Regions from separate parts of the Homo sapiens genome. Here region 2 is linked to region 1. The links are contacts of gene promoters, found by promoter capture Hi-C in human tissues and cell types (Jung and others, 2019). All regions are on one chromosome and are shown on one strand. Each heading gives the region's core, a stretch centred on a gene start or on the middle of the fragment in contact. The rest is flanking DNA. Distances are from core to core; before and after follow the strand shown.

Region 1 (2,821 bases), core at 91-2,590:
CCATGCCCGGCTAATTTTGTATTTTTAGTAGAGACGGGGGTTTCTCATGTTGGTCAGGCTAGTCTCGAACTCCCGACCTCCGGTGATCCGCCCGCCTCGGCCTCCCAAAGTGCTGGGATTATAGGCGTGAGCCACCGCGCCCAGCCGCGCCCGGTTTTTGTTGTTGTTTTTGTTTCTAAAAACAGCGTCTCGCTCTGTGGCCCAGGCAGGGGTGCAGTGGCGCGATCTCAGCTCACTGCAGCCTGGAACTCCTGGGGTCAAGCGGTCTTCCCACCTAAGCCTCTCCGTGCTGGGACTCCGGACGCGCTCCACCTCACGCAGCCGTATTCCTGCTTTCAAAGCAGATGGAAGAGGTGCGCCAGGACCCCCAGTTCTTGGAAACAGACCTCTCCAGTTACCTGTTGTTTCCTCTTCACGAAGAGTGCATGTAACAGTAAGACACAACTGTTTCATATTATACGTAAAGAGTTCATGCCAAAGGTTATAGACAGTCACATGCTAAAACTAGGCTACACTTTGAAGAATCACCGCTCAAGTTCTGGAAAAAAGAGGTGACTGTTGAACAACACTGTGAGGGTAATCGATGCCACTGAAATATACACTTAAATTGATTAAAGTGGCGAATTTTATCTGGCATATATTACCACCATTTTTAGAAATGTTTTTTGGCAGGTGAAGAAAAGCAAGGCTCCAGGAGGCCCTGCGCACCGGTCTACGCCCACTAACTCACCCGCCCCCTGCGCCGCGTCTCCCCTCTCAATTTCAGTCGCCCATTGATAAAAACGAGGTGGCTATGTGAGATGGCCTTCAGCGGTCTTTCCAGCTCCACGGTTTTACAGTGTGGAGCGGGGAAAGAAAAACTCTAAGGTCCTCGCTGCAAAGCAACCATCAGAGCTCCGCCGCGCCGTGCCGCTCCTCTCCGCCCCGTGGTCCGGGTGTCACCGCCCGCAGGGGCGCAAGGGCCGCAGCACGCGTGCGCAGTGGGCACCAAGAGCGCTGCGTCGACCGCGCCGCGCCGGCCCTCCGCCGCCGCGCCCGCCTACAAGGCCCTGAGGGAGACTGCGGAGGGTGAGTGCGCGGTGGGCTCGGCTGACCGTTGGCCCTGCGGCCGGCGCCCTAGGCTACCTCCCTTCGCCTCCCCGCGCCTCCCCGCGCCTCCCCGCCTCCCCGCCTCCCCGCCTCCTCGGCTCTGGTTCCAACACCCCAGCGCCAAGCCGGGGAGGCGGGGAGGACTTCTTAAGTGTGCCGCTCGGGAGCCTCCCGCTCGTCCCGCCCCGAGGGGCGTGAGGAGGGGAGGGGCTGCGGACTTCGGACTCGGGCCTGGAGACCGCCTCCTACCCAGAGCCGGAGCCCGCAACCCGCTCAGGCGGCGACGGAGCCATGTCGCCGCTGCTGGGGCTCCGGTCCGAGCTGCAGGACACCTGCACCTCGCTGGGACTGATGCTGTCGGTGGTGCTGCTCATGGGGCTGGCCCGCGTAGTCGCCCGGCAGCAGCTGCACAGGCCGGTGGCCCACGCCTTCGTCCTGGAGTTTCTAGCCACCTTCCAGCTCTGCTGCTGCACCCACGAGCTGCAACTGCTGAGCGAACAGCACCCCGCGCACCCCACCTGGACGCTGACGCTCGTCTACTTCTTCTCGCTTGTGCATGGCCTGACTCTGGTGGGCACGTCCAGCAACCCGTGCGGCGTGATGATGCAGATGATGCTGGGGGGCATGTCCCCCGAGACGGGTGCGGTGAGGCTATTGGCTCAGCTGGTTAGTGCCCTGTGCAGCAGGTACTGCACAAGCGCCTTGTGGAGCTTGGGTCTGACCCAGTATCACGTCAGCGAGAGGAGCTTCGCTTGCAAGAATCCCATCCGAGTCGACTTGCTCAAAGCGGTCATCACAGAGGCCGTCTGCTCCTTTCTCTTCCACAGCGCTCTGCTGCACTTCCAGGAAGTCCGAACCAAGCTTCGTATCCACCTGCTGGCTGCACTCATCACCTTTTTGGTCTATGCAGGTTTGTCATTCTCACCAAATACTTGGCACTTCCAGAGCCTCTATGACATGAGGCTGTAAGTTCTTTACTAAAATACATTTGAAACCGTCTATCCCGCTATGATGTAAATGCTGGTATCCCCGTTATTCTAACCATTTTGCAGCCCGTTCTTAACCAGTAGGGCCGACACGTAGAGCCTTCATGCAGTGCTGCTTTGAACACCCAGAGAAAGGAGCCACCTCTGTGCTGAAACTGAGATACTGTGAGATATTGCCAAGGGTTCAGATATCCTACAAAGGGATTGTTTTAATGGTAGAAAGGAAAGATAACTTATTAACTGCCTCTTTCTTCATGCCAAGGTGGTATAGATCGTTTCGGATACTCTTACTGAAAAATGATCCTGGCTTTACAAAGTTCCTTTCGATTTAAAGCACAAGGCACATGATTGGTTAGTATAAGAGCGGAGGGTAGAAATTTTGTAGTTCCATTTTAGTCCTATAAATGATTTAAAGTCATTTCTTATTTCCTTAATAATTCATTTTGAGTTATGAAATTTCTTATTTCCTTAATAATTCATTTTGAGTTATACATGAACTTTTAAGTGACCTATTAAGAAAAATGTTTAAATGATAACTTGCTTCAAATTAAAGATGCTTTTTAAAATATAACTCTTGAGAAATCTGTTGATTTCTTTTAAACCATTTGTTTACTTTGACAGATCTCAGATGCAGTGGGCAATCTAGTCCTAAGTGGGAGGAGGAAATCCAAAACACAAGTATTTAATGATGAAATGTGTCATTTTAAATGATTACAACAGAATATCTTTATTGGGACTACATCTAA
Region 2 (2,821 bases), core at 113-2,612, 260 kb before region 1:
AGAGCATACACACTTGAGAGCCAAACAGGCTGAAATCCTGGATCTGCTACTTACCAGCTATCATGGAAAAGTTACTAAACACTTGAAACCTCAGTTTTCTCACCTGTAAAAATGAGAATAGAACCTATGACTCACAGAGTTGTTGTAAAGGACAATATATAAAGTGCTTAGTGCCTAAATATATAAAGTGTTTAGTGCCTAAAATATGGTAAAGATTCAATATAACCCATTTATTACTAGTTATATTACTATATCAGGAAGAAAACTTTAGAGGTCACTAACCTTTCAAGAACTATAATTTGGTATTTAATTAAGAATGGTATCTTTACTAATCGCAGGCTTAGCATATAGTATTTACACATTTCCCAGTGCCCACAGTTTCCAGAATACAACTCTCATGAACAGCAAAAGGGGTCCTACATTGTACTAAGAGACTTTTAGTTCCAACAGATACTAGAGACTAATGGGTTATACTTGGCAGAACCCAGATCTCATAACTAATAGGCCAGTATGCCATAATCAGTAACCTCAATTACAAAGACATGCTAAGTATGTTCCAGAGGGTGATATTCCAATGTGGGTTCTTCCAGTAATTTCATTCAATTCAATAAATATATTTTGAGTACCTATCCTGAGTCAAGTCCTAGGTAAAACATGAGACTCAGGGATTAACAAAATAGAGGTTATAATCCAATAGGAAAGAGATTCATAATTAACACAGGGCAGTATGCCCTGCCCTGCCCTGCCCTGCTCTGTCACTTCTGGGCTTCATAATACGAAAGCAAATGACAGTGCATGCCTTCATAAAGTTGCATGTGATACTTACTATTAGATCACTAGTGGGCAATACAATAAAAGAACACTAGTTATAAGAAATTGTACTTGAAACATATATGTTAAATACAAATGATGCGGCCTGCTAAAGGCAATTTTTGCAACCATATAAAATTATCAGGATTAGGCAGGCAGGAGTATAAAAGGCCTAGTAAACCCCTGACTCCGGGTTTCCCCACAAACTGGCAAAATCTCACTCTCAATAAGTAGAGTATCATTGCCATTATCTGAGGATTTCCAATGAATAAAGTGTAAAGACTCCAAAAGCCACACTCACTAATTATCTTCTAAACTTATGTTCCATGGATGGGCATGGTGGCTGATGCCATGCCTGTAATTCCAGCACTTTGGGAGACTGTGGTGGGCAGATCGTTTGAGCCCAGCCTGAGCAACATGGCAAAACCCTGTCTTTACAAAAAATAGAAAAATTAGGCAGGTATGGTGGTGCACGCCTATAGTCCCAGCTACTCTGGAGGCTGAAGTGGGAAGATCAGCAGAACCTGGGGAGGTTGAGGCTACAGTGAGCCATGATTGCGCCATGCACTCCAGCCTGGGCAACAGAGAGAGATCCTGTCTCGAAAAAACAGAGCAGAAAAACTGGAAACTCTAAAAATCAGAGCGCCTCTCCTCCTCCAAAGGAACGCAGCTCCTCACCAGCAACGGAACAAAGCTGGATGGAGAATGACTCTGACGAGTTGAAAGAAGGCCTCAGATGATCAGACTACTCTGAGCTACAGGAGGAAATTCGAATCAATGGCAAAGAAGTTAAAAGCTTTGAAAAAAAATAAGATGAATGGATAACAAGAATAATCAATGCAGACAAGTCCTTAAAGGACCTGATGGAGCTGAAAACCAAGGCACGAGAGCTACGTGACGAATGCAGAAGCCTCAGGAGCCGATGCGATCAACTGGAAGAAAGGGTATCAGTGATGGAAGACGAAATGAATGAAATGAAGCGAGAAGAGAAGTTTAGAGAAAAAAGAATAAAAAGAAACGAACAAAGCCTCCAAGAAATATGGGACTATGTGAAAAGGCCAAATCTACGTCTGATTGGTATACCTGAAAGTGACGGGGAGAATGGAACCAAGTTGGAAAACACTCTGCAGTATATTATCCAGGAGAACTTCCCCAATCTAGCAAGGCAGGCCAACATTCAAATTCAGGAAATACAGAGAATGCCACAAAGATACTCCTCGAGAAGAGCAACTCCAAGACACATAATTGTCAGATTCACCAAAGTTGAAATGAAGGAAAAAATGTTAAGGGCAGCCAGAGAGAAAGGTCGGGTTACCCACAAAGGGAAGCCCATCAGACTAAAAGCTGATCTCTCAGCAGAAACTCTACAAGCCAGAAGAGAGTGGGGGCCAATATTCAACATTCTTAAAGAAAAGAATTTTCAACCCAGAATTTCATATCCAGCCAAACTAAGCTTCATAAGTGAAGGAGAAATAAAATCCTTTACAGACAAGCAAATGCTGAGAGATTTTGTCACCACCAGGCCTGCCTTACAAGAGCTCCTGAAGGAAGCACTAAACATGGAAAGGAACAACCAGTACCAGCCACTGCAAAAACATGCCAAATTGTAAAGACCATCAAGGCTAGGAAGAAACTGCACCAACTAACGAGCAAAATAACCAGCTAACATCATAATGACAGGATCAAATTCACACATAACAATATTAACTTTAAACGTAAATGGGCTAAATGCTCCAATTAAAAGACACAGACTGGCAGACTGGATAAAGAGTCAGGACTCATCAGTGTGCTGTATTCAGGAAACCCATCTCACGTGCAGAGACACACATAGGCTCAAAATAAAGGGATGGAGGAAGATCTACCAAGCAAATGGAAACCAAAAGAAGGCAGGGATTGCAATCCTAGTCTCTGATAAAACAGACTTTAAACCAACAAAGATCAAAAGAGACAAAGAAGGCCATTACATAATGGTAAAGGGATCAATTCAACAACAAGAGCTAACTATCCTAAA

Evidence for each region. The method cuts DNA at HindIII sites, captures the fragments that hold promoters and counts their contacts. A contact is called where the count stands out against the background at its distance.
Region 2: a contact is called between a fragment that was not itself captured here and the fragment with the promoter of AQP11 in region 1, in 1 of the 25 tissues and cell types used here (small bowel).

Annotation. Positions count from the first base shown.
Region 1 is chr11:77,588,613-77,591,433 of GRCh38, forward strand. AQP11 (aquaporin 11) reads left to right here and starts at 1,341. Exons shown (of 3, transcript NM_173039.3): 1 at 1,341-1,999. The coding sequence starts at 1,381. RefSeq lists a silencer at 688-1,317. The HindIII fragment of the contact is 8,161 bases long and covers 1-2,821 here.
Region 2 is chr11:77,325,274-77,328,094 of GRCh38, forward strand. The region is part of intron 14 of PAK1 (p21 (RAC1) activated kinase 1); the gene reads right to left. Among named protein-coding and RNA genes, the nearest start is that of GDPD4, 25 kb to the left of the region's middle. The HindIII fragment of the contact is 3,689 bases long and covers 1-2,821 here.